Regions from separate parts of the Homo sapiens genome. Here all the other regions are linked to region 2. Evidence: promoter capture Hi-C in human tissues and cell types (Jung and others, 2019). All regions are on one chromosome and are shown on one strand. The core of a region is centred on a gene start or on the middle of the fragment in contact, and the rest is flanking DNA. Distances in the headings are between cores, read along the strand shown.

Region 1 (3,579 bases), core at 849-3,348, 230 kb before region 2:
TTCCCGAGTGGTTGGGACTACAGGTGTGTGTCACCACGCCTGGCTAATTATTTTATTTTTCGTAGAGACAAGGTCTGACTGTGTTGCCCAGGCTAGTCTTGAGCTCCTAGGCTTAGGTGATCCTCCCACCTTGGCCTCCCAAAGTGTCAGGATTATAGGTGTGAGCCACTGCACCCAGCCTGGATTTGCTCTTTTATCAAGAGGTTAATATTTATTCTTCCGTTCAGTGAACCGTGGGATTGAATTCCCCCAGCGATTGAAATGAAAGGGCTTATGTATAACATTTCCTGAGGAATGGTAGTACCAGAGTTCAGAGGAGACCTCAGGCCATTTATTCTATAAACTCAGAAGCTGTAGTTCTAGATGATGTGGCTTCTTCAGGGTGTTGAGAAGTCTCTGTTATCTCGTGCCTTGTTGGATTAGAACTGATTGAGCTCTGTCTGCTGCCCCAAACATGTGGCTCAGCCAATCTCCAGTGGCATCTGCAATGTGGGTATTCTAGCCTCCAGTGCTCACGTGGCTCACCTTAGAAAGGGCAGATATTCCTATTTCCTGACGCTGCTGGAGAATGAGGTCTGAGTCAGAAGTCCTCAGGTGTGACCTGCCCAGAACTATCTGAAATTGCTGGATTTCTTGTTCTTCCTCAGTGTTTAACAATCACCCAATTGCTCATTCTCACCAGCGACTTCCTCAGTAAGAGCTCAATATTTGAGGTGGTGCTGCATTTTGTCAAACATTCATGCGTGTTAGCCCACTTAGTCTTCGCAGCACACAGTGGATTAATGGATTTTTAAAAGCTGGTATTTATGCACGATGGAATACTACTCAACCATAAACAAGAAGGAAATTCTGTCATTTGTGACTACATGGATGCATCTAGAGGACATTATGCTAAGTGAAGTAAGCCAAAGAAAGAAAGACAAATGGTGCATGATATCACTTATATGTGAAATCTGAAAAAGTCAGTTATAGAAGGAGAGTGTAACATGTTGGTTACCAGCGGCTGGGGGAAGGGAAGGGTGGGTGTGGAAAGGGGAGATGTTGATCAAAGGGTACAAAATTTCAGTTAGGAGAAATAAGGTCTGATGATCTGCCTTACAGCATGGTGACTATAGTTAATATGGTTAATATTATAATAGTATTGTATACTTCAAAATTGGTAAAAGAGTGGATTTTAAAAGTTGTCACCACAAAGAAATGATAAGCATGTGAGCTGATGGATATGTTAATAACCCTGATTTAATTATTCCCCAATGTATACATGTGTCCAAACATCACACTGTACCCCATAAATATAATTGTCAGTTAAAAACTTAGGAGTCAAGTCAGATCTGAAGAGAAGTCAAAACAGATTTCATACAGTTAATTTAGAGACATGGGACCCAATTAAAAATTTGTATTACTTTACTTGGTATTTTAGAATTTAGCTGTTATTTTCTTGTTACACACACAGGCACAGGCACACAAATCCTCTATTTAACTGGCTTTCTCAGTAGGAACTCCATCTGTGTATTTGCAACAGCTGTAACTCAGGTTGGATGCTCCCCAGGGTGCTGGCCTATAAGTCATATTGGACCCTGATCTGAATCTGAGGGAATCTGGATCTCTCTTGTAGGAAGCTTTTGGTTTAACTGGGAAGACAGGATGACAGTCAGTTGTGGAAGCTGAAGCGTAATCACCTCATATTAATATGGTGGCAATTTTATATCGGAGTGAGCTCTGAGCTGCAAACAGCCTTCTAGGAAGCAGGCAGGGGACCCCCATCCAGGGTGATGGTAAGAATCCTGATGCCCAACTGCAAGGTGTTCAGCAGGGAGGGAGCACTCGTGGAGTCCCAGTGCAGAAGTCTCTGAGCAGCCACTTAGCCTCCCTGTGTTTGTGGGGTAACAACCCGAGTTCATGTTGTGGGCATCTCATGCAGTGTAGTAGCTGGTCACTGTCAAGTGTCACTATTTCATTGAGTCAGAAGCCTGCAGAATTGTTCTCATTCCAGGGAGTGAGTCAGTCTGCTGTTGCTTACTCTCGGTGCTGGCTGAGCTCAGCAACCTGCTCTCTTCCTTCAGTTCAGGTTTCTCCAGGGCAAAGAAGTCTTTATTGTTCCTTTCTGTATGACCAGATGGGAAATGAATTATAATATAGTCCTTAGATTATATTCCCACCTGGTAGCAATGCACTGAGTTACCTGACCTGAAATTTGTTGGACTTAGTCTCCATGGAGGAGGATTTACCATCTTCGTTGTCTCAGAAGTCCTGGTAGTGCCTCATGCCAGCAATTTAGCAGGAGCAAAAGCTTTGAGACAGTGTTCTGGATCTGCTGAGCTGGTCTAAAGGAACCTCTTTTGCTTGAAGTAACTGTGATAGGAACTTTGTTACTGCTTCTGTTAGCTCAGGTGTTGGAATGAGAATCAGCAGCTGATGAGGTGAACAGCTAGGAGTACTGGAATTATGGAGTAGTGGAGGTAGATTTTATAAACAGAGGGTCCCAGTTTTTTGGAAATGGGAAAGAGAGAGGGTAGACTGGCCTTTCTAGAATTTGTAACAGAAAAGAGGACCCAGGAGCTTCCATTGACTAGTTAGTTAATGCAGTGCGGGATCTTAGCTGGTTTGCTTGGTCCAATTCCTGTCTCTCGGTTTCTTTTTTCCCTTCCCTTCGCTGCCTTCCCCTCCCTCTTCCCTTTTTCTTTCCAAGAGAATTGAGTCACTCCATATAAAAGAAGCAGCCAGTTGGCTAAAAAGTCCAACAAAAAACAAGTATTTATAGCTCTCCAAATTTCCCACTTGTCATTATCAGTATACTTTTGCACACAGTTATAGTCGGTGTTTGGGATCCTTTTTAAAAAAATAAAAAGTTTCTGTAGGCTTTTCCATGCATGAACACAGCTTATCAACTTGCCCCGGCTGTGCCAGGATTCCATTGTTGACTGTTGTTTGAGCAGTCATGCCCTTTGTTCTTAGGCTGTGTGTTGTTTTTTTCCTAACATCATAGTATGGCTGGGTATTATTTTGATACAGATTACAATTACTATTACTATTTCTTGAAGTGTATTTCCCAGAGTGGAATATTTTAGGATCTTTTTTTCTCTTTTGTGGGGGTGGGGAACATGTAGCTTCTTGTGGATATTAGACATTGAAGTCTAAAAAGGTTCTATATTTATGATTTGGCCCTCAATTTTCTAGAGATTCCAATGGTTCCTGCAAAGAAAAGAGCATTCAAGTATAGAAACCAGCCAGACTAAGTCTGGACATGTAGCTTTTCAGAAAGTGAAAAAAAATTATGTTTCTGCAGTTGCAAGGTGGCCTCTGAATGCCACACTGTGTGGCCACTCCCTTGGACAGTGGCTAGGCCACAGGGTCGCCTCCCCTGGCCCCAGTCTGTGGGTTGAATATGCTAACCGAGCCTTCCCAGGAGCCTCCTCTGCCCCCAGCCCCCAGGTCTGTACAGATGGTAGTTGGTACTTTCAGCCCGCCTTGAGAACTCAGTATTCTTCCTGTTAGCTTTCCTTCAAAGTAAAATCGGTAGAACCTATTTTGAGTGTAGAAAATTTGAAGTCGTGGACAGCAGATTACAAAAAATTGCCC
Region 2 (3,517 bases), core at 507-3,006:
TTTACTAAAATTACAAAAATTAGCTGGGTGTGGTGGTGGGCGCCTGTAGTCTCAGTACTCAGGAGGCTGAGGCAAGAGAATCGCTTGAGCCTGGGAGGCGATTGCAGTGAGCCGAGCTCAAGCCACTGCACTCCAGCCTGGGCAACAGAGCGAAATTCTGTCTCAAAAAAAAAAACAAAAAAAAAACACTAAAGTGAAAACTAAAATGTCCCATCCCGAGTGGTGTGGTGTAAAGTAGCATTAGAGATAAGACGTTTTAGTTTTCATTCAACTTTTTGGTTCTGTCCATTCTGAAAATGCTAAGTATCTGTTACCTTTACAGTGAATCCTAAAGAAAATGTGGTACTTAGACACAATGGAGTACTATTCAGCCATAAAAAAAGAATGAGATCCTATCATTTGCAAAAACATGGATGGAAGCGGAGATCGTTATGTTTAGTGAAATAAGCCAGGCACAGAAAGATAAATATTGCATGTTCTCAATTATTTGTGGTTATCTAAAAATCAAAACAACTGAACTCATGGACATAGAAAGTAGAAGGATGGTTACTTCTAGTGTAACCAAGGCTGGGAAGGGTAGTGGAGGGTGGGGATGCTTAATGGATACAAAAAAAACAGAATGAATAAGATCTAGTATTTGATCAAGCCACTGCACTCCAGCCTGGGCGACAAAGCGAGACTCCGTCTCAAAAAAAAAAAAAAAAAAAAAAAGATCTAGTATTTGACCGCACAACAGGGTGACTATAGTCAATATAATCTAATTGCACATTTTATTTATTTATTATTATTTTTTTTGAGACATAATCTCACTCTGTTACCCAGGCTAGAGTGCAGCGGCGTGATCTCGGCTCAATGCAACCTCCGCCTCCTGGGTTCAAGCGATTCTCCTGCCTCAGCTTCCCGAGTAGCTGAGATTACAGGTATGAGCCACCATGCCAGCCTAGTTTTCGTATGTTTAGTAGAGACGAAGTGTCCCCATGTTGGCCAGGCTGGTCTCAAATCCTTGACTTCAGGTGATCCGCCCGCCTTTGCCTCCCAAAGTGCTAGGATTACAGGCGTGAGTGAGCCACCGCGCCCGGCTGCACATTTAAAAATAATTCAAAGAGTATAATCATATTGTTTGTAACACAAAGGATAAATGCTTGAAGGGATGGAGACCCCCATTTTACATGTGATTATTACGAACTGCATGCCTGTATCAAAATCTCTCATATACGCCATAAATATATACACCTACTACGTACCCACAAAAATTAAAAAATTTTTAAAAATCTTAACAAATGTGATGCTGGTGGTAACTGTCACGCCCACAGAGGAGGTCTGTGAAAGCACCCAGGCACCCCCTCTCGCCCCGTGGAACCGCATCGCAAAGGTAGCTCACTGGCCCCGGGGCGGGTCCCTGGCCGACAAACCCGTAACTCACAGCAGTGACGCTTCCCGACGCCCCCCGGCCACATCCCCACAGGAACGCTACGGCGCACAGGGCATTACTGTGCCCCCACCACAACCACATAAAGAAAATGTGGGGGCTCGGTCCTCCAGTCACGCGGCGAGCAAGTGCAGCGCGGGACGCCCGAGCGCCGGGTCTAGGCGGGCTGCAGGTGCCGGCAAGTGCTGGGGCCGGGCCGCCGCGGAACCCACCTGTGCTGGGCCTCAGGCCTTGCGCCGCCCTCGGGCTGCCGTCGCCAACCCCCCCCAAACAGCTCGCCGCCACGCTCCCTCGCCGGGGCACCGCCCCCGGCACCCGCCCCGGAAGTAGTTGCGGGAGGGCGCGGAGCACGCCGGGAAGCTCGCGGGTCGGCACCGGGACAGCTCCCGGGCGCCGTGGAATGCACACGTCCCGCACCCGGACCTTCCGGTCAGCTTCCCGGCTCGCTGTCTGATGCCCGCGGTAGCCAATGAGCTAGTGGTGTTTGTCCTGCTCCGTCCCCGCCCTCCAGGGGAACCAATCCCATTGCAGGAGAGGCAGGACGCGCAAAGGCCCGAAAGAGGAGCTGGGCGGGGTGGGGGGAAGGCGGAGGCAGTCTAGTAATGTAAAGCTCCGCTGAGAGGGAGAGTGCTGAAGAAGGGGACAGCCTCTGTACCTGCGGCGCGGCCCGAGGGGCGGACGCGAGCGGAGTGACGCGCTGGAGGCTGTTTATAGCGCTGTCAGGACAGCGCGGGGAGTGGAGGCAGAGGCCTGAGGTGAGGGGCCTCGGGCCTGCTGCGCCTGCAGGGAGTTGAACAAAACGCGGGGAAATACGGGCTGGGGGTGGGTGAGAGGAGGAGCGATGGGCTTTCCACTTCCACAGCTTTAAAATTTAAAAGCTCGACCCGGGAGGCTGTTGGCGTCTGGTTGCCATAACAACCGGCAGCCTCGTGGCAGGCCGGCTGGGGGCGGGGCTCTGAGAACCGGGGCGGGGCTGTGGCGGGGCTAACAGGCTGCAGCTGAGAAACCCACCCCGAGACGGAGCCGGAAGGCCGTTATTCAGAGGCGGCTCCGAGCCTCCCCTTCGCCTTCTGGATGCTCTGAGCTCCTCAACTTGGCGTTCAGGGCCCTGCATTGTCTGGTCCGTTTTCACCGGAGAGTCCAGCAACTGACACTTTCTTCCCTTAAACCTGTTGGGCGGTTCATTCCTTTGAGCTACTGTACATGCTCTTCCTTCTGCCGGTAATGCCGTTCCCTCCCCTATTGTCTTGTCCGCCTGAAGGGTTTATCAGAGTCTCTGGAGGCCCTCTTCATCCCGACGATTCTGTTGCCCTAAGAAATACTGTGCCCTGAATTGCGGAACAGAGCTCTAGTTACAAAAAACACCCGCTGGCTGTGTGCACCAGATGCGTCCCCAACCCGCTGCTCCCAGTTCAGAGTGCACCAAGCACCTGCCCTATTCCCAGAAGTACAGAGGAAGCAAGCAGCCCCCAATTCACATCTCCTGCCGCTGCCCTGATTGGGGATGAACGGGCACTGACTGCAGGGCCAAAGCCACAGCGGCCTCTCGAGCTGCAGAGTTCTCCTGACACTGGCTCTAGAGGACCCTCACCCCCCAGCTCTCAAGCTCAAGCTCCCCAGCCCCCTGAATAACAGGACCATCTCCTTTAAGACTCTAAGATATAAATGCAGGGGCTGGTCAGAGTAGTGACTCCAAAAAAAAAAAAAAATCACTTAGTGACTCCAAACTGTCAGCCAGGCGCGATGGCACATGCCTGTAATCCCAGCACTTTGGGAGGCTGAGGCAAGAGGATCACTTGAGGCCAGGAGTTTGAGACCAGCCTGGGCAACAGGGAGACTCCATCTCTACAAAAAATAAAAATGTTAGCCAGATGTGGTGGTACACACCTGTAGTCCCAGTTATTCAGGAGGCTGAGGTGGGAGGATCACTTGAGCTCAGGAGGCCGAGGCTTCAGTGAGCTATCATTGTACCACTGCACTCTAGCCTGGGCGACAAAGCCAGACCCTGTCTCCAAAACAAAAAAGCAAGGTGTCTTCTGTTCCTTGGTAAAGGGCAGTAAAGGGTAGTAGGACTTGAAATTCCCCCTG
Region 3 (3,896 bases), core at 1,046-3,545, 250 kb before region 2:
GCGCTCCAGCCTGGGAGACAGAGCGAGACTCCGTCTCAAAAAAAAAAAAAAAAAGAAAAAAATAAAACAATCTGGCATTATAATGCCATCCTGATTTTAGTTAATCTAGTTGACTGGCTGGCCTCATAAGTAGCTGTGATGATCATAATTTTTATGCGAAACACCTGTCATTGAGCATACAGGTGTACTGAAAGAATTGGGTGGAACAGGGTATTTGAAATCAGAATTGTTCTGGAAAGTCGGGTACATAAAGCTCTATCTTTAGCACAGTTGTCTGTATTGCACAATTAATATTTATAGAATGGTACACCTTATGTTATCTTTTTATTTTTCCACCTAACTCTCTCTCTAGATTGAAAGGTACTTGACGTGCAGAGCAAGATCTTATCTTTCTTTGTAGTCACAGTACTCAAGAGGGTGATAAATGTTTGTTGATGATAATGTAATGTCACCTGTCCAAGTGTAGCCATCATCTTCAGTAGTTACTTGATCTGCTGTTGTGTCTGGCAAGACTGCTATGTGCTGCTGCAGAGGAGCCATTGTCACCTTGAACTATCTCTGTGGCAGTCTGGAGGAGGGCAGGAGGGAGAAGGGAAGGAATAAATGAGCAAAGCTGAGTGTGGATAGTAGTGTTTGACGGCAGATGAAAAAGCAAACTTGGTGAAGTGTGGCCTGGGTGGTCATCTAACTTCTACCTAGAAGACATTAAACCTTTACTCTCTTCTTTTTATGTAGGAAGGCAGAGGGAAAGTCAGGCCTTCGGTTGGCTTGGTAATAGCAGGTATCCCAGTAATTAGAAAATAACTTAAAAAACTCCATTCCTCTACCATATACTTGAGAATTTGTCAATCTCAGCAAAATTTTCAAATGTCTGTGTTCAGTGTCATATTTGTCCTGCTCTGTAAGACTTTTTGTGTTTATAAAAAGGCAAGTGGACCCAGAAGGGGAAAAATATGCTGTTCTGAGAAACTAGCTGCTGTAGGTTATGCTTTTCTGTCTTTGCTTGTGGCTCTTCTGGTTATTTGAGAAAGGCAAAAAAACCCAAAGTCTTTTTTCTACTCTGTTCCCACAGTCACTCAACACAACACTTCTGATACCAGATATATGGGAGTTGTTTCCCCATACACCAAGCAATTCTCTAGTAGACACACCGGTGCGGTGTCCTCTAAGTCAGTTAAATTCTGATACTCTATCTGGAGATAGCGTCAGATCCCACCAATTGAGGGCTCAGTCCCACAAAACTGTCCCAACTTGAGGCACTAGTCACAAGTAGTAAATTGTCACCTATACTTCTGACCTACTAGCTATAAATCGAAAGTTCTGACAATCCCTCCTCGAGTTTGATTAATCTGCTAGAGTGGGTCACAGAACTCAGGAAAACACTTTACTTACATTTACCAATTTACTCTAAAGGATATTAAGAAGGATACAGATGGCTGGGCGTGCTGGTTCATGCCTGTAATCCCAGCACTTTGGGAGGCCAAGGAGGGCAGATCACCTGAGGTCAGGAGTTTGAGACCAGCCTGACCAATGTGGTGAAACCCCATTTCTAGTAAAAATACAAAAAAATTAGCCGGGTGTGGTCGTGCATGCCTGTAGTCCCAGCCACTAGGGAGGCTGAGGCAGGAAAATCGCTTGGACCCTGGGGGCAGATGTTGCAGTGAAATGAGATCACGCCACCGCACTCCATCCAGCCTGGGCGACAGACTGGAAGAAAAAAAAAGGATACAGATGAATAGCCAGATGGAAGAGATGTATAGGGTGAGGCATGTAGGAAGAGGCATGAAGCTTCTACGCCCTCTCTGGAACTTTCGTGTATTCAGCTATCCTGAAGCTAATGCAAACCCTGGTGTGTGTGTGTGTGTGTGTGTGTGTGTGTGTGTGTGTGTGTGTGTGTGTGTGTGTGTGTGTGTTTATGGAGGCTTCATTACAAAGGCATAATTGAATACGTTATTGGCCACTGGTGATCAACTCAACCTTTAGACCTTCTCCCGTCCCCTGAGGTTAAGGGGGTAGGGCTGAAAGTTCCCACCCTCTAATCACATGGTTGGTTCCCCAGGCAATCAGCCCCCATCTAGGAGCCCACCAAGAGTTACTTACTTACAACAAAAGATGCTCCTATTACCCAGGAAATTCCAAGGGATTTAGGAAATTACAAAAGTTTTAGGAGCTCTGTGTCAGGAACTGAGGTTAAAGACCAATATCAGAATGAAGGATTCTCCTAGTGCCCCCATCTACAAAGGTTTTAGGAGCTCTGTGCCAGGAACCTAGGGTGCAGATCAAATATATCTATAAATCTTTTTGTTTGTTTGTGTTTTGAGACAGAGTCTTGCTGCGACACCCAGGCTGGAGTGCAATGGCGCTATCTCGGCTCACTGCAACCTCCGCTTCCCGGATTCAAGCGATTCTCCTGCCTCAGCCTCCCGAGTAGGTGGGACTACAGGTGTGCGCCACTATACCTGGTTAATTTTTGTATTTTTAGTAGAGACGGGGTTTCACCATATTAACCAGGCTGGTCTTGAACTCCTGACCTCAAGTGATCTGCCCACCTCAGCCTCCTGAAGTGCTGGGATTACAGGCATGAGCCGCTGCATCCAGCCTCAAATTTATCTCTGTATCTTCTTCTAAATTACAGTATCACACCCGTGCATATGCCCAAAAATTTTTTTTTTTTTTTTTTTGAGACGGAGTCTTGCTCTGTCGCCCAGGCTGGAGTGCAGTGGTGCGATCTCGGCTCACTGCAGGCTCCGCCTCCCAGGTTCACGCCATTCTCCTGCCTCAGCCTCCCGAGTAGCTGGGACTACAGGCTCCCGCCACCATGCCCGGCTAATTTTTTGTATTTTTAGTAGAGACGGGGTTTCACCGTGTTAGCCAAGATGGTCTCAATCTCCTGACCTCATGATCCACCCACCTTGGCCTCCCAAAGTGCTGGGATTACAGGCGTGAGCCACTGCACCCGGCCTCATATGCCCAAATTTTAAAGGAGGCACCACATTCAAGTCCAAATGCCTAAAGGTAGAAGGATCAAGAAACAGTAGTATGAGGCCATTTGAGAAGTATATATAGTTATCCCTCAGTATCTGTGGAGATTAGTTCCAGGACCCCTCAAGGGTACCAAGATCCAGGATGCTCAAGTTTCTTTTCTTTTCTTTTTTTTTTTTTTTTTTGAGACGGAGTCTTGCACTGTCACCCAGGCTGGAGTGCAGTGGTACGATTTCGGCTCACTGCAATCTCCACCTCCCGGGTTCAAATGATTCTCCTGCCTCAGCCTCCCGAGTAGCTGGGATTACAGGTGTGCACCACCACGCCTGGCTGATTTTTGTATTTTTAGTAGAGGTGAGGTTTCACCATATTGGCCAGGCTGGTCTCGAACTCCTGACTTCAGGTGAGCCGCCTGCCGCGGGCTCCCAAAGTGCTGGTATTACAGGCATGAGCCACTGTGCCCAGCTTAAGTTTCTTATATAAAATGGTGTATAGAATTTGCATATAACCTATGCATATCTTCTGTATTCTTTAAATCATCTGTATTTATAATACCCAATACAGTGCTATGTAAATAGTTGTTATACTGTATCGTTTAGGTAATCATGACAAGAAAAAAAATCTGTACATGTGTAGTACATATGTAGCCATCTGTTGTTTTTTTTTTCCCTGAAGATTGATTGGTTGATTGAGACGGCATCTCACTCTGTCACCGAGGCTGGAGTGCAGTGGCGCAGTCTTGGCTCACTGCAACCTCCACCTCCTGGGTTCAAGCGATTCTCTTGCCTTAGCCTCCCGAGTAGCTGGGATTACAGGTGCCTGCCACAACCCCCGGCTAATTTTTATATTTTTAGCAGATTCCGGGTTTCACCATGTTGGCCAGGCTGATCTCGAACTCCTGACCTTAAGTGATT
Region 4 (3,518 bases), core at 997-3,496, 220 kb before region 2:
GATTTTTGTATTTTTTTAGTAGAGAAGGGATTTCACCACATTGACCAGGCTGGTAAATCCTTTTAATGCTGTGTCACACATATTCCATCTTACAAGACTCCGTGACCGTTGATATTAATATTCCACAAAATGGGCATACTTGACCAAACCCTATTAAGACATTTAGGCAAGGCCCTACTTGCTGCTTTCATGAAATACAAGAGAACACCTCTGTCCACCGCTCTTTCCCTTTTGTTAGATTATCTCCTCAGGCTAAGCTTGTCAGAGTGAGATGACTAGGTCAAAGGACATGAGCATTTTATGCCTTTTTGAAAGGATGCCAATTTATAGTGCCAGTTATTAATTTTCATATTAAAATGTCACTTATTTTTATATGCATTTCTTTGGCAATCAGGAGACAGAACATCTTTCCAAGTGTTCAGAAATTACACCTCTTCTGAGTTGCCTTATTATCCACAGAAGACATGGAGGCCTAGAAAAGGATGGGGCGGGGCATAAGTCTAGGACCCCAGCATGACTCTCCCACCCTCCTGCCTGCACAGTGAATTCCAATGGCACAGGGTTAAGAAAAGGGAGCAGTGGCCAGGTGCAGGGACTTATTCCTGTAATCTAATCTCAGCACTTTGGGAGACTGAAGCTGGCAGATGAACTGAGGCCAGGGGTTCGAAACCAGCATGGTCAACATGGCAAGACTCTTGTCTCTACAAAAGAAAAATTTTTAAATTAGGCATGATAATGTATGCCTGTAGTCCCAGCTACTGGGGAGGCTGAGGCAGGAGGATCACCTGAGCCCAAGACTCAGAGGATACAGTGAGCCATGATCAGGCCACTGCACTCTAGCCTGGGCAACAGTGCGAGACCCTGTCTCAAAAAACAAAAAAAAAAAAAACAGAACAGGGAGTAGCAGCAGTGCCTCTTGGGGCTGGTCCTGGGGTCCCTTGCCCAGGCTGCTCCTAGCCTGCCAGGTGCCCTCCTGCAGGGGAGAAGAGGGCAGCCTTTCATGGGGCTTTACCTGCGTCTGGAAAACTGCTCCAATACGTTGAGTTGGAATAAGTGCCAGCCCCTGCTACAAACTCCCAGACTCCCAGAAAATGCTCTCTGGCGCCTCTGGGTGGCACCACCGTCCACCAAGTGGCCCAACACTGTGGTCTGCAGTGGTCTTGCTCATCGGGGAATGGTCCAGGCCCTGGGATGCTCTGAGCAGACCAGGAAAATAAGCTGCACTGTGCTTGGTGAGTCACTGAAGCACCTGCAGATCCCAGCCTGGGTCCCTTGCAGGGAGCACACACACACACACGTGTGCACACACACCCCATCTCTGAGAATGCAGGTGTTGCCTTTCTCTGGCCCATCTTTTCATCAAAGTCAACAGATATAATCCTATGATCTCCTAGAGCTCAAAAATTCTATTTCTGGAATTCCACATACAGCCTTGCCCATGATGATAGGGTGTAAGCCCACAGGGCATAGCCCTCCTTTGGTGTTCACCCAACCTGGGTACAGAAAATGCAGGCCACAGGGAAGGGTCTGGACCTGCACAGGGCTGGCTTCCCCTCCAGCTCGATGGCCACACCAGAGCCCACCTTCTCTTTGCCCCTCACCGGGGGCCGCAGGGCCCTGTTGCTCCTCCGTGTCTTCCCCACCTAGGGCCATGCCTGCTACTCACTGCTCCCCCTCACCCCTCCATATCCACATGCGTCCTCCTGCTGCCTTCCTGAACCCCAGCAGAGACTGCAGGGCAGGTCCTTCTCTACCAAGGAGAGGATCTGGAAAACAGCTCATGAAGATTTCCCGAATTCAAACACCCATTCTCCCAGTGCCTTCCAATACAAAATCAAACATGCATTCCCACAAAACCATGTTGTGTAGGGTGTAATAAAAACTACAAGAATAATCTTTCAATCACACGATCAGAAGCAAAATAGTTTTCCAATAAAACGAGTACTGTTCAAATTAAGCTACAAAATGGAAAATGTCTGATCTGAAAATGCAGCCCCAGCACCTCTGCTGTGGGAAGGTGCTGGTGAGGGAGGGGGCTAGGAGACCTGGGGATCTGCCCAGTTCCCAACAGAGGAGGAAGGGGAGACTTGCGGGGTCTGGGGAGCCCACTGAAGTCAACTTGCAGCCCTGACAAATCCAAGAGAGGCTTCTTGGCCTTCTTGCTTTAAATCTTGGATTTATTAATTGCAAACAAAATAGGTGCCTGTTTGAAAATCTTTACAAGTCAATCACAAACTTAATAGTAAGTCACTCCTATGGAAGACCAGAGGCCTCTGCAAAGTCTACCCCTCCACACCCTCTGGGTTCTGTGGCATGTGAAGGTGTGGAGAAAAAACCTGTTTCTCCTCTGCTTTCACACCATAACAATCAACAGAAAAGACTTCTGTGGCAAAACATGTGGGGGTTTCTCCCCAATAACAAGCAAGCAGTCAGTTCTGCAGCGGACACCAGGTGGACGTCTTCTAGTGGCATTCAAGTCTGATGCTACCGTGTCAGATCCCACAGGTTGAGGGCTCAGTTCCATGACTGCCCCCCACTTCTGATCATCGCAATTCCTAGCTTGCGACCTGCGCTTCTGACAGACTGGCTACAAATCACTATCTTGGGAGCGGATTCCTTGTAAGAGGATTAGCTAGTCTTTTGTGGGTGCCTCTCCCCGCGGCCCTTCCACCATGGGATGACACAGCAAGAAGGCCCTTGCCAGATGCTGGCAGTGCCTTGATCCTGGACTTCCCAAGCACCACAGTTTTGATGACTGATGGTGAGGCTTAATGGGAGTTGTTTGGGACATGGGAGGTGGATTCCTCATGAATAGATAAATGCCCTCCCTGGGGTGGAGGAGAAGCGAGTGACTTCTCACTCTGTTAGTCCCCGCATCCTTGCTGGTTGTCAGAAAGAGCCCAGCGCTTCCCCTCCCCTTCTCACCCCCTCTCTCGCCATGTGATCTCTGCACAGAGACCCCCCGTGCCTTCCACCATGAATGGAAGCAGCCTGAGGCCCTCAACAGAAGCAGATGTTGGCACCGTGCCATCCTATAAAGCCTGCAGAACCAGGAACCAAATACTCTCTTTTCTTTATAAATTACTCAGCCTCAGGTAATTTATAGCAACACAAATAGACTAAGACACCAGCCTCCAGAACTGTAAGGAGATAAATTCCTCTTCTTTATGAATGACCCAGTCTCAGGTATTCTGTTAGAGAAGCACAATGGACTAATACTACATCAAGACTTGACAAGTGGTAGGTTTTTTTTTTTTTTAGACAGAGTCTCGCTCTATCACCAGGCTGGAGTGCAGTGGCGCAATCTTGGCTCACTGCAGCCTCCGCCTCCCGGGTTCAAGCGATTCTCCTGCCTCAGCCTCCTGAGGAGCTGGGACTACAGGCATGCCACCCATCTAATTTTTGTATTTTTAGTAGAGATGGGGTTTCACCATGTTGACCAGGATGGTCTCAATCTCTTGACCTCGTCATCTGCCCGCCTCGGCCTCCCAAAGTGCTGGGATTACAGGTGTGAGCCA
Region 5 (3,494 bases), core at 542-3,041, 220 kb after region 2:
TGGTCCTCTTCTTGGCAGGGGCAGCCTAGAGGGGCTGGGTGGCAGCTGAGGCCTCAGGCACTGAGCTGGGGGGTCCCTGGAGTCGCTGTGTTGATGGGGCTGAGCTTTGGGTGTTGGTGCCTGTGGCCCCTCCCCAGCGGCCAGTCCCTTGTTCTGACCCCTGCTTGGTGGTCAGAATCACACACTGAGAGCTCCTGAAGACCTGAGCTGACCTTCAGGTGGGACTGTCCGGCTCCAATGACAAGAGGTCGTTTTCCCCAGGTTCCTCTGTCTGCATCCGCTCCACGGATGCGCTCTCTAGGAACAGCTTCCCCTTCCTGGTTCTCCTGGGTCTCCCTTTCCATTCCTACAGCATCTACCTGGGCAAGAGATCTAGGGTCTCACCCCCTCACCTCCAGATTCCTGAGGTCACTTTGGTGGCCTCCCTCCTCCTGGCTCCTCCTCCGTGCTCTCTGCACCCTTCCCCCTCCTCCACCGTGGTCAACTACAATCTATTCCCAACACAGCAACCAGAGGGCTAAAGTGAAGTCAGCAGACTCCCCTGTCCCATACCTCCCAGACACTCTGAGTACCTCAGCATCAGAGCCAGATAACCCATGAGACCCCCTCCCTCAGGCTCCCCTCAGAGTCTGCTCTCTTCCCCGCCACTTCCCTCCCACTAACTCTACCCCCGATACACTGACCGCCTCCCCAATACTCAAACACGCCAAGTATGCTCCTGCCTCAGGGCCTTTGCATCGGCTGCCCCCTTGGCCCCACTCTCTACGTGGACCCCCTGCTCTTCTTCCAAGCCTTTGTGCCAAGTCACCTTCTCAGCGCAGCCCACCTGGTCCCTACATTGTAATCTGCCCTGCACTTCCCACCCTCTTTCCCTGCTCACCAATCATGGCACTCAGTGCAATCTAACCCACAACAGAAGCCACTCACGGATACAAAAAAATAAGCCAGGTGTGGTGGTGGGCGCCTGTAATCCCAGCTACTCAGGAGGCTGAGGCAGGAGAATCGCTTGAACCCGGGAGGCGGAGGTTGCAGTGAGCTGAGATCGCGATTCTGCACTCCAGCCTGGGTGACAGAGTGGGACTGTGTCTCAAAAAAAAAAAAAAAAAAAAAAGGGGAGTGAAGGCCTGACATGCGCTTCAGCATGGTTGACCGTGAGCACATTAGGCTCAGTAAGAAAAGCCAGATACACAACGGCACATATTATACGATCCTGCCTGTGAAATGTTCAGAGGTGAATTCGTAGAGATGGAAAGGAGACTGTGGCTGCTGGGGAGAGGGGAGTGGCGAGTGACTGCTAAGGGGCACAGGTGATGATAGTGCTCTCAAATTGACCATGCTGATGGTTGTGCAACTCTGAAACTACCAAAACCGGCTGGATGGCACTCTTTTTTTTTTTATTTTTTTTTTTGACAGGGTCTTTCTCTCTCTCTCTCCTTTTTTTTTTTTTTTTTTTTTTTTTTTTGAGATGGAGCTTTGCTCTTGTTGCCCAGGTTGGAGTGCAGTGGCGCGATCTCAGCTTACCGCAACCTCCGCCTCCCAGGTTCAAGTGATTCTCCTGCCTCAGCCTTCCTGAGTAGCTGGGATTACAGGCATGCATCACCACGCCCGGCTAATTTTGTATTTTTAGTAGAGACAGGGTTTCTCCATGTTGGTCAGGCTGGTCTTGAACTCCCGACCTCAGGTGATCTGCCCACTTCGGCCTCCCAAACTGTTGGGATTACAGGCATGAGCCACCACGCCCGGCCCCTGTTTTTTATTTTTACTTTTTTTTTTTTGAGACAGAGTCTTGCTGTGTTGCCTAGGCTGGAGTGCAGTGGCACGATCTCGGCTCACTGCAACCTCTGCCTCCCGGGTTCAAGCAATTTTCCTGCCTTAGCCTCCCAAGTAGCTGGGAGTACAGGTGCCTGCCACCATGCCCGGCTAATTTTTTTTGTATTTTTAGTACAGATGGGGTTTCACTATGTTGGTCAGGCTGGTCTTGAACTCCTGACCTTGTGATCTGCCTGCCTCGGCCTTCCAAAGTGCTGGGATTATAGGCGTGAACCACCTCACCCGGCCTTAAAATTTTTTGTAGAGACTGGAGCCTTACTATTTTGCCCATGCTGGTTTTGAACTCCTGGGCTAAACTGGTCCTCTCTCCTTGGCCTCTCAAAGGGCTGAGATTACAGGTGTGATCCCCTGTGCCCAGCCAAGGGTATTGCTGTACTGCTGAGGCTGGAGTGCAGTGGTGTGATCATTGCTCACTGCAGCCTGGAACTTCTGGCCTCAAGCAATCCTCCTGGCTCGGCCTCCCAAAGTTCGGGGATGATAGAGGTGAGCCATCAGACCCAGCTGAATTGCATACTTTAAATAAATGAATTCTGTATCTCCAAAAGGCAGAGTTATCACCTTCCTATACTGTGTTGGCCACCCCCTCAAATGTCCAACGTCAAGTCCTCACTCCCCTTCACCCTAAATTCCCGTGGGAAATGCCCCTCCTTCTAAGCCCGCACAGTTACAAACATGTACCCGGGTCCTCTGGTGGTCCCTGTGCAATTACTTTTCCTCACGCAATTTCCACCAACCTTCAGGATAACACTATGGTTAACCCCATTAAAAAAAAAGTTTCCAATGTGATTTTTTTTTTTTTTTGAGACGGGGTTTCACTCTGTCACCCAAGCTGAAGTGCAGTGGCACAATCTCGGCTCATTGCGACCTCTGCCTCCAGGTTCAAGCGATTCTCATACCTCAGCCATCCGAGTAGCTGGGATTATAGGGGCCTGCCACCACGCCTGGTTAATTTTTGTATTTTTTTGTAGAGACAGGGTCTCACCATGTTGTCCAGGCTGGTCTCGAACTCCTGACCTCAGATGATCTGCCCACCTTGGCCTACCAAAGTGCTGAGATTATAGGAGTGAGCCACTGTGCCTGGCCTCAATGTGATTTTTTAAAACAAGGCTAATCAGGTGAAGCAGTGGGAGTGGAGAAAACAAAACAAAACAAAACAAAACAAACACATCTGCAACGGGTTGAGACAATTAGTTGTAAACACCACTGCACTCAGACCAGCTCCTGTTATTTTTTTTATTGCAGTAAGATATATATAAAACATTGCCCATCTTAATTAATCATTTTTCAGTGTGCAGTTCAGTGGCATTCACATTATTGTGTAACCATCACACCATCCATCTCCAAAACTCCTTTTTTTTTTTTTTTTTTTTTGAGAGTCTCGCTCTGTTGCCCAGGCTGGAGTGCAGTGGTGCAATCTTGGCTCACCATAACCTCCGCCTCCTGGGTTCAAGCGATTCTCCTGCCTCAGCCTCCCGAGTATCTGGGATTACAGGTGCGTGCCACCATGGCCGGCTAATTTTTGTATTTTTAGTAGAAATGGGGTTTCACTATGTTGGCCAGCCTGGTCTCAAACTCCTGACCTCGTGATCCGCCCGCCTCGGGCTCCCAAAGTGCTGGGATTACAGGCGCGAGCCACTGTGCCCGGCCCAGAACTCTTTTCATCT

What was found. Contacts are between HindIII fragments. The study calls those that stand out against the background at their distance.
Region 1: a fragment that was not itself captured here is called in contact with the fragment with the promoter of ANKS3 in region 2 in 1 of the 25 tissues and cell types used here (dorsolateral prefrontal cortex).
Region 3: a contact is called between a fragment that was not itself captured here and the fragment with the promoter of ANKS3 in region 2, in 1 of the 25 tissues and cell types used here (aorta).
Region 4: a contact is called between a fragment that was not itself captured here and the fragment with the promoter of ANKS3 in region 2, in 1 of the 25 tissues and cell types used here (dorsolateral prefrontal cortex).
Region 5: a fragment that was not itself captured here is called in contact with the fragment with the promoter of ANKS3 in region 2 in 1 of the 25 tissues and cell types used here (dorsolateral prefrontal cortex).

The regions. Positions count from the first base shown.
Region 1 is chr16:4,498,495-4,502,073 of GRCh38, forward strand. All of the region lies in intron 1 of HMOX2 (heme oxygenase 2), which reads left to right. Among named protein-coding and RNA genes, the nearest start is that of HMOX2, 24 kb to the left of the region's middle. RefSeq lists a silencer at 1,814-2,108. The HindIII fragment of the contact is 3,900 bases long and covers 149-3,579 here.
Region 2 is chr16:4,732,515-4,736,031 of GRCh38, forward strand. ANKS3 (ankyrin repeat and sterile alpha motif domain containing 3) reads right to left here and starts at 1,757. Exons shown (of 18, transcript NM_133450.4): 1 at 1,424-1,757. It overlaps DNAAF8 (dynein axonemal assembly factor 8), which reads left to right and starts at 2,023. Exons shown (of 10, transcript NM_139170.3): 1 at 2,023-2,184. RefSeq lists silencers at 1,543-1,602, 1,653-1,882. The HindIII fragment of the contact is 29,621 bases long and covers 1-3,517 here.
Region 3 is chr16:4,481,312-4,485,207 of GRCh38, forward strand. The region is part of intron 1 of HMOX2 (heme oxygenase 2); the gene reads left to right. It overlaps LOC124903636 (a long non-coding RNA gene), which reads right to left. Exons shown (of 3, transcript XR_007064964.1): 2 at 453-568. Among named protein-coding and RNA genes, the nearest start is that of HMOX2, 6.9 kb to the left of the region's middle. The HindIII fragment of the contact is 6,121 bases long and covers 1-3,896 here.
Region 4 is chr16:4,516,873-4,520,390 of GRCh38, forward strand. The region is part of intron 1 of CDIP1 (cell death inducing p53 target 1); the gene reads right to left. Among named protein-coding and RNA genes, the nearest start is that of CDIP1, 20 kb to the right of the region's middle. The HindIII fragment of the contact is 6,021 bases long and covers 1-3,518 here.
Region 5 is chr16:4,948,842-4,952,335 of GRCh38, forward strand. No RefSeq gene overlaps it. Among named protein-coding and RNA genes, the nearest start is that of SEC14L5, 7.7 kb to the right of the region's middle. The HindIII fragment of the contact is 7,417 bases long and covers 1-3,494 here.